2 separate regions of the Homo sapiens genome follow, and region 2 is linked to region 1. The links are contacts of gene promoters, found by promoter capture Hi-C in blood cells and fetal thymus (Javierre and others, 2016). All regions are on one chromosome and are shown on one strand. The core of a region is centred on a gene start or on the middle of the fragment in contact, and the rest is flanking DNA. Distances in the headings are between cores, read along the strand shown. Region 1 holds the start of SLC6A1-AS1 (SLC6A1 antisense RNA 1). Region 2 has its middle 10 kb from the start of LINC00606.

What was found. Contacts are between HindIII fragments. The CHiCAGO score rates a contact against its expected background, and 5 or more counts as called.
Region 2: a contact is called between a fragment that was not itself captured here and the fragment with the promoter of SLC6A1-AS1 in region 1, in 1 of 17 cell types (M1 macrophages). The highest score is 5.1, in M1 macrophages.

What each region holds. Positions count from the first base shown.
Region 1 is chr3:11,016,228-11,020,965 of GRCh38, forward strand. SLC6A1-AS1 (SLC6A1 antisense RNA 1) reads right to left here and starts at 2,997. Exons shown (of 3, transcript NR_046647.1): 1 at 2,893-2,997. SLC6A1 (solute carrier family 6 member 1) reads left to right here. Exons shown (of 16, transcript NM_003042.4): 3 at 832-1,222; 4 at 1,616-1,747; 5 at 2,371-2,471; 6 at 3,986-4,095. The coding sequence starts at 985. The HindIII fragment of the contact is 14,538 bases long and covers 1-4,738 here.
Region 2 is chr3:10,751,813-10,756,550 of GRCh38, forward strand. No RefSeq gene overlaps it. Among named protein-coding and RNA genes, the nearest start is that of LINC00606, 10 kb to the right of the region's middle. RefSeq lists a silencer at 2,249-2,449. The HindIII fragment of the contact is 1,295 bases long and covers 1,779-3,073 here.

The DNA of each region.
Region 1 (4,738 bases), core at 1,747-4,246:
GTGTCATCCTCATTTTAAAAGATAGGGGCACACAGAGGTTGAGTGTACTTAAGGTCACACAGCTCAAAAGTGGTAAAGTCGGGGCAGGGTGCAGTGGCTGGCTCACGCCTGTAATCCCAGCACTTTGGGAGGCGGAGGCGGAGGCGGGTGGATCACGAGGTCAGGAGATCGAGACCATGGTGAAACCCCGTCTCTACTAAAAATACAAAAAAAAAATTAGCTGGGCGTGGTGGTGGGCACCTGTAGTCCCAGCTACTCGGGAGGCTGAGGCAGGAGAATGGCATGAACCCGGGAGGCAGAGCTTGCAGTGAGCTGAGATGGCACCACTGCACTCCAGCCTGGGCAACAGAGCAAGACTCCATCTCAAAAAAAAAAAAATGTGGTAAAGTGGACTGTGATCAGAGGTCGTAACTCCTAGGCTCTGTCGTCTTCACCCAGACACCTCCGTAGTGGGGACACCTTTCTCCCCATTCAGCCACAGGTGGAGCTTCTTTCTTGCTCACCCTGGCGATGGCTAGTATGGCCGCAGAGTGTGACAAGGCTCCCAATTGCATCCTTGGAGGCAAAGTTAAAGATTTTATGATTAAGTACTTAACATTTCCTGTTGGAAGTTTGGTGGCCTCAGATTTCTCCTCTGAGCAGGACATACAACAGAGGGTTGGACACAGATGGCCAGAGTTGAAGCTAGGCCAGGAAACATCGCTGTGTCTTTGGAAACAAAAGTCACCTTCCTTCCTCCAGGAGCAAGGGCGGGTGAGAGGAAGAGGGCTTATAGAGAGCCTTTTCAAGCCCCTAGCTTGTTTATGGGTTATTTTGTTTTTGTCATTTTAGGGTGAGGCAACTCCAAGGTCCTACTCTCTTTCTGTGCCTGTTACCCACCCCGTCCTCCTAGGGTGCCCTTGAGCCGCAAAACTGCTGTCCACGTGGACCGGGGGTGACATCGCACGTCCATCTGCCAGGACCCCTGCGTCCAAATTCCGAGACATGGCGACCAACGGCAGCAAGGTGGCCGACGGGCAGATCTCCACCGAGGTCAGCGAGGCCCCTGTGGCCAATGACAAGCCCAAAACCTTGGTGGTCAAGGTGCAGAAGAAGGCGGCAGACCTCCCCGACCGGGACACGTGGAAGGGCCGCTTCGACTTCCTCATGTCCTGTGTGGGCTATGCCATCGGCCTGGGCAACGTCTGGAGGTTCCCCTATCTCTGCGGGAAAAATGGTGGGGGTAGGTGCTGGCCCGGGGACCTCCTGGCTGGGTCTGGACCCTGCAAAAAGGATCCTGCTTAGGCATTTTTCTGGGGCAACTGTAGGAGAAAAGCCCCCCTAAAGACTCCAGAGGGAGCACCAGGCCCCATTTCTTGTTTCTTGTCCCTTTATCAAAAGATTCCTGAAGGACAATTGTCCTCTGTTAATGATACCAAGAAATTCATCTATTCACCTGCAAAAAATGGGATGTATTTCACATATGGCTTTCCTTGGGCCTGTGGTTGGCTGTGGGTCCTGCTTTTGAGGCAGGTATAAAGAAATACTGGATGGGGACCCAGACCCACGACACTCCCTCTACCAGGGCGGGTCTTGAAAGTCTTGGGGCCACGAGCTCTGTCTTCTTTACCTGCAGGAGCCTTCCTGATCCCCTATTTCCTGACACTCATCTTTGCGGGGGTCCCACTCTTCCTGCTGGAGTGCTCCCTGGGCCAGTACACCTCCATCGGGGGGCTAGGGGTATGGAAGCTGGCTCCTATGTTCAAGGGTAAGTCTGCAGATCAGGGACCTGGGTGGTGGTGCCCCTGCCCACACACACCTCTTGCCCTCTGGAGAGAGCGAGCTGTCTACCCAGACCAGGGCTGACATCACATATCCATCCACCAGGTGCATATCTGAGCAGAGTGAGGGCTGTTGCAAGGGGCCAGGTGGCAGATGACAGTGCTGGTCAGAAGCTAGGGAGGTGGAGGTGGAGAGGCCCAATCCAGAGTCCCCCGCACATCAGCCTGCTCTGTCCTGTTAGCCCATCTATTTCCTCTGCAAGGGCTGGGTGTGACTTTCTTTGCCTCGTGCTCAGTGCCTGACAGGCACCCAGGTAGATACATGGTGAGTCATGCTCACTGACCGAGGGCCTGGGCCTCACCTCGTCCGGCAAGCTGAGACCCCAGCCCTGCCTGCCACCAGTCTGCACTGGGCCCCAGACATGAGTCCTGGCCCCCTGGCTTGTCAGATGTACATGACCTTCAGCAAGTCACTGCCTCTCTCTTAGCCTCAGTGTCCTCAGTAATGCCTGTCTCCGAGATCAATAAGATTGTAGAGGTCATGGAACATGCCACGACAGTTCATGTTAATTCCGTATTAAATGGACGCGTGTCTGTGTTCCGCTCCCAGGCGTGGGCCTTGCGGCTGCTGTGCTATCATTCTGGCTGAACATCTACTACATCGTCATCATCTCCTGGGCCATTTACTACCTGTACAACTCCTTCACCACGGTGAGTGGTCCCTTTGACCACCCCATCCAGCAGAAGCCACACCCAGAGCCCACCCTTGGCCCACCACGGCCACCACTCTGCTGACAAGGCCATTCCTCCAGGAGTGGGGAACTTGGTTTGTCTTTTGTGGGCCTTGGTCTCCCCACAACAGCCATAGCCTCACAAATTTAGCATCTCCTGTGAGACAGGCACTCCTTGCAGGCTCACATCCAATCCTCATGACACCCCTCTAAAGTGCGTATTGTTAGCACATTTTATATGGACACAGACAGCCTGGGTTCAAATCCTGACTCTACTATATACCAGCTGTGCAACTTCAGAAAAGAGACTTAACCTCTCTGAGTCTCAGTGCCCTCATTTATAAAATGGAAATAAAATTAGAACCTGCCCCAGTTCCTCAAAAAATTAAACATAGAATTACCATATGATCCAGCAATTCTGCTTCTGAGTAGATACCTGAAGAATTACAAGCAGCTCTCAAAGAGATATTTGTACACTCCTGTTCACAGCAGCACTATTCACAGTAGGCAAAAGGTGGAAGCAAGCCAAGCGTTCACTGATAAATGAATTGGTAAGCAAAATGTGGTCTATACATACAATGGAATGTAATTCAGCCTTAAAAGGAAGGAAATTCTGACGCATGCATCAACATGGATGGACCTTGAGGATATTATGTCAAGTGAAATAAGCCGGTCACAAAAATACAAATAGTGTTTGATCTTGCTTATATGAGTTCCCTAGAGTAATCAAATTTATAGAGACAGAAAGTAGAATGATGGTTGCCAGGGGTTGTGGGTAGGGGGATGAGGAGTTGTTGTTTAGTGGGTGGAGTTGCAGTTTTGCAAAATGAAAAAAGTTCTGGAGCTGGATGCTGACAATGTTAGGCAATACATTTCTCACAATGTACTCCCATTGTTAAGTGACACATGACTGTATTTGCAGAGGTGTGGCAGGGTTCAGGGAGCTACATTATGGGTATACTTAATGCTTCTAAATTGTACAGGCACCAATAGTTAAGATGGTAAATGTTGTGTGTATTTTATCAAAATTAAAAAATGAAAGAAAACAAAAAGTGAAACCCACCTCATAGGGTTCTTGTGAGGATTAAGGAGCAGATATGTGTAAGGAACTTAGAACTGCGCCTGGCAGAGAACAAGCCCTGTAAGTGTTTGCTGGTGTCGTTGCAGTGAGAGTTAGATGGGCAAGGTCTCTTGCCCAAGGTCACATGGTGGGGAAGTAGCCCCGGCTGCAGCTTGGAAGGCTGTTCTCACAGTGAACAGGTTGAGGTTCAAATCTCAGCTCTGGCACTTAGTAGCTGTGCATTCTCAAGCAAGTCACTGTCCCTCTCTGATCTGTCAAATGGGGATCATAATGCTACTTGCCTCCCAGAGCTGCTGCGAAGGGGAGGTGTGAGGAGGCTTGGGGACCATGAGGGTGGGCAGGGTGCACTGGGACCACTCATGCCAGCCCCTGGGAGCCCAGCAGGATGCGTCCTCATGACTGTGTCCTTGCAGACACTGCCGTGGAAACAGTGCGACAACCCCTGGAACACAGACCGCTGCTTCTCCAACTACAGCATGGTCAACACTACCAACATGACCAGCGCTGTGGTGGAGTTCTGGGAGTGAGTATGGGGCCATCAGGGGATGGCAGGGACGGGGCATGTCAGCCAGAGCCCGGCAGGAGACAGAGGCCCCTCGGAGGGGTAACAGAAGAGGTGGATAAAGGGGCTACAGTCATGTGTCACATCATGACATTTTGGTCATCAGTGGACCACATATGCAACGATGGTCCCATAAGATTATAATACCATATTTTTACTTTACCTTTTCTACGTCTAGACATGTCTAGTACCGAAATGCATTGTGTTACAGTTGCGTACAATATTCAGTACAGTCATGTGCTGTACAGGTTTGTAGTCTAGGAGCAATAGGCCACACCGTATGGCATAGGAGTGTAGCAGGCTAGACCATCTAGGTTTGTGCAAGTACACGCTATGATATGCACACAACAACAAAATTGCTTAAGAACGCATTTCTCAGAACATATCCCTGTTGTTAAGTGACACATGACTATACTTGCAGAGTTGTGGCAGGGCTAAGGCAGCCACAAGGGATGCTGAAGACCTTTTCTCCCCAAAAAGAGTTGGACCACAGATAGAGCCATGAGACACACAAACTCTGACCTTTGATAGCAAAACCCAGCTACTCACAAAGCCAAGGTCCAGCAGGAAGAATACATTCCCCAACATCTCTGCCTCTAATCTC
Region 2 (4,738 bases), core at 1,176-3,675, 260 kb before region 1:
ACCACTCCTGGCTAATTTTTTTTTTTTTTGTAGAGATGGGGTTCTGCCATGTTGCCCAGGCTGTTCTTGAACTCCTGGGCTCAAATGATCCTCCCAAAGTGCTGAGATTACAGGCATGAGCCATGGAGCCCAGCCAGATAAACTTATTTTTTAACTTTAAAACTTATAATACTACCAGAAGTGGGAAATCCGTGTGACTAGCCAAAATTTGAGTGTAACTATAAAAATAAAACAAAAACAATGTGATTAAATGCTAGATGGAGACTGGCTGTTACCTGCTGAAGGCTCTGGTCTGAACCTCCCCATGCCTGTGGCTCTTTGTGAAGATCAGTCAGCTCAGTGAGTGTCTGAGTGCCTTGAGGACCCGGGAGCTCCAGACCGCTGAGACCCTCCCACGGGAGCCATCGGGACCGAAAGACCTTGGCAATGCACTTCCATTCACACAAGGTCCTTCCAAGGCACTGAATGCCCCTGAATTCATGGCACTTGATATCCCACTTGTGTTCCCCCAAAACAAGTGATGCGTGAGCTGCCACCTTTGGAAGGTCTTGTAATGTTGGGAAGAACTAGACTTCAAGGCAGCCTTCAGGGCCAGTTCTTGCCCAGTCAGTTCTTGACTAGTTCCTGGCTTGCTCAGAATCTCAGATAAGTCACTTCTCCTCCCTGGAAGTCAGTTTCCTCATTTCTAAGAGAAGCAGCTGATTTCTGGGATTTCTGACATTTATAATCCACTGGGCATTATGCTTATTATTTTAATGATAAACTTAATATTCCACAAAATTAATATGCCACAACTCACTTAACCCTACTATTTGGCATTTATATTATTTCTGGTCTTTTACAGTTCTAATGTGCTTCCCCCTCTCCATAAAAGCAGGTTTTCTATTTTAAATTATTTCAGGATAAATGCCCAGAACTGGGATTTCTGGTTTAAAATATGTGGGTCTCAACCTCTATTGGCTGACGGCCCTCCCAGAGGCTTGCACCATTTCACAGCTGCACACGCAGGGCCTGGGAGAGTGCTCAGGGGAGAGCCTTGAGTGTGAGCATGAGGAAATCTCTGAAACCCTTTTTAGACACATAAGCAGTCGGAGGCTTTGGGCAGATTGTGAATTGGAGAGGAAGAGCTGGTGCCCCTTCAGGCAAAGCTGTGATTAGGCTTAAAGTTCACCCCTTGAAAGCTCCACTGGCCACAAACATTCTCCCTCTTTGCGCTTCCTCCTCTCTCCCCAGTGCTCTGACATCTGGAACAAGTAAAAGATTTCAGAGGAGGGAACCTTTCCCCCTTGTTTTCTCCTGTGGCCTGTCACTTCCCCTGACTTCCTCCAATGAGGAGGCTCCCAGCCTTGGTCCCACCCATCAGGATGGAAATAAATCCAAAACTGCAGCCAACACCGGCACACTTTGAGATCAGTTTAGATGTTTGGGAATATTTTATTCTTGGGTTCTGAGGAAGGATGTGTGCTTTTTCTAGAGCTCTCTCTCATTCATTTCTTAGATAAACAATTTCTCTACTTCATCCCACAGTGGGAAGGCTTCCCTCTGTATCACAGCATACACTCCCATCTCCTGCATGAGCGTGGCTGCTCCCCAAGGGTGGGGATTTGTGTCTGTCTTGTTCACAGCTGCATTTCTTGTGTGGAGAGCAGTGCCCGGCACATAGAAGAGCCTCCGTGCGTGTTTGTTGAATGAGTGGATGTTGCACCCAAGATCCTCCACTTTGCCTAAGGTGGGCTATGGGGTCAATTGTAGGAAATGGGGCCAATCCATTTCAGTCAAGCTTTCATCCCCAAAGGGCAAGACAGTTTTCTAACAACATGGCAGCTTATGGAGAAATAAGGTTTTTCTAGAATGGAGAACTTCAGGATTATTCAAGTTCAAATTCAGAATGTGAATACAGTGAGGTCTATGAGAATCATTTTTGCAGAAGATAATTAGAACGTGTTTCTTTCTACCCCTGGAAGAAGGAGACACTCAATCTGAGAAGAGAAGAAAAAGGTTAAAAAGAGAGAGAGAGAGAGGCAAGAGGGAGAAGAGAAGGAGAAGAGGAGAAGAGGAGAAGGTGTTACTCGGAGGACAAATGCAATCAAAGAATAAAAAGCCAAAAACTTCCAGACCTAGCTGGAAAATATTTGTTCAATAAGTCATAAAAGCATTGGGGACAGGGAGTAACTAGGTTTAAACTGATTAAACATAGGTTTATAGATGTTTTCCAGGGTGACATGGCAAGGTTGCCCCAGTCCTGCATTCTGCTCTCCAGAACCTGCAACTGAGGAGTCACCTTCAGGGGAAGAGGTGGGCCAGGGAGGAGGAGCCAGCCTCGGGCACAGAGAACCCAAGCCAGGACCCGTCAGGACCCTGGAGAGCTCCGAGCCAGCTGGATGTTCAGTGTTCTGCACCATGCAGCAAATCTGGCCAAGTCGGGAGAAGTCTCCTTTCTCAAACCCCCTTCTGACTTTTAAAGGAAGGGATGCCTTCCACTCTGTTGAGAACTTGTGTTATCCAAGGACGCAGAGGCTAAAAAATAGAATCTTGGAGTGTTGGGGCGGAAAGTGGCTGTCACTGACTTCCCTCTGAGATTCCAACCTCAAATCTGACTACATCACATGATCAGTGGTCAAGTTCTGGTTCCAAAGCTGGTCTCTAACCTCGGGGAGGAAATTTAACACCAGAAAGCCTACAATGGAAGAGCTACTAAAAGAAACAATAAATGGCTCACATTCTGTGAGTAGCGTGTGTATTTGGTTCTAGAGCCCCAGAGAAGTGAAATGAACTAGACAAAGTTACCCCTAAAATGTTCCATATGATTTGGATGTGTGTTCTCTCCAAATCTCAGGTTGAAATGTGATCTCTAAAGTTGGAAGTGGGGCCTGGCGGGAGGTGATTGGATCAGGGAGGCGGATGTCTCATAAATGGTTTAGCACCATCCTCCTGGTGATGAGTGAGTTCTCGCTCTGGTAGTTCATGAGAGATCTGATTGTTCAAAAGAGCATGGCACCTCCCCCCACCACTTCTTGTGCCCACTCTCACCATGTCACATGCTGGCTCCCTGCTGCCTTCCGCCATGATTTTAAGCTTCCTGAGGCCTCACTAGAAGCCAAGCAGATGTTGGTACCATGCTTCTCATACAGCCTCCAGAAACAGGAGTCAGTTAAACCTGTTTTCTTTGTACATTGCCCAGTCTCAGGTATTCTTTTATAGTGACACAAAATGGCCTACCACAACGATGCCTCACATTCTCAAGAGAAACCAAATGTGCAAAGGGTTTAAGAGTCTGTTTGACTCTAACTCCTCCTCAGAGAGCAGCAATGGATCTTTTGGGGTTCCCGCAAGGTATTCCCATCTAATGGCACCAGAAGAGTGGTCCACAAAGAATCTAGGCTTTGCAGTTCTTTGTACTCTACCCTATCTTCCTTTTCCTCTTTCCCCAGTAGAAAGCCTGCAATGTGAAAGAGCTACATAAAAACCAATAAATGGCTCACTGTCTGATTAACTGTCATGGTGCTTATCATAGCTCACTGGACAACGATTGACTCCTTGCAGGTTGGAGAAAGTATGAGCCCCTACTTGTTCCAAAATTTGCTTTGCTTCTTGCCTGGCTACAGCTTAGTTCCTTCTGGGGCTCATCACTACGTGGTAGTTGACTGTGGCTACAGAGGTTGTGAGGCCCTGATGCCTAGCAATTCAAGATAGCTGGATTGTGATGCCAATACAGCTTAGAGAGAAAATGGCTTGCTCAAGGTCAATAGCAAATATGCAAAACCCAGAGCTGTGATGGGCATGAGAAGCTTCGAAATTTGGAAGAGAGACTCAAGTCTCAAAGTAAAGCTCTCATTAATCCCAGGTGGTACATCTCTTGAGGCCTGCAGGATTCCCTTAAATGTGTCTGGCATTGAGTTTTATCCCCAGTGTGTGTCACGAGAAGCATAAAAATGTGATCCTTGTTTGCAAGTGTCCCCTCACCCAGGCGTGATGAGGTCAGAAATTCCACCCTTGCAGACAGCAGGGGTTTTTTGGGTTGAGCATTGACCGTCTTCCTGGACGCTCATTTGGAAGGCAACCAGTGCCTCAAAGACGAAAGACTTCCACAGCTGACCTCTAGCCTTGAGTAGGAAATTTAACACCAATAACTGTACCCTTGGGACAGGACTTCGCAAAGGTCCAGACAGTGGTAGTGGCTTAGTTCCATTCTCAACCTGGTCTTCTAAGACCATTACTGCTTTGTGTTCATTATCTATGAGTGGTTTGCACCTTTGGTTTCATATTAGGACCACTTGGGGAGCTTTTAAAAACCTCAAGACCAATATTCCACTGGTAGTTTCTGGGGATGGAGCTCAGGCCTTAGTAGCTTTTAAAGCTCCCCAGACGACACCAGTGTAGCCAAGGCTGTGAATTGCAGCTCTCCTGGGAGAGCAGAGAATGGAATTGTAACCACTTCTAAGTCCACTGAGCTGAGCACAGTGTCCTGCCCACAGGAAGCAGTTTTTTAATCCATATTGCACTAACGGTGGAAGTTAGATTGAGTTCCAGTACAAGTAAAACTCCCAGGACCTTACATGGCTATGCTGACCAAGCTAAGATTTATTTCAGGAAAAAAATACAAGATATTAAGACCATTAAAATGAGGATATGCATCAGGGCCAAAGGCTGCCTCATAGTGAGGGGTTCTGAGAGTCAGGGGAGAGCTCCAGTTGTTACACTGATGTGGAACGACCATGTGCTTGTTCTTTCAGATCAG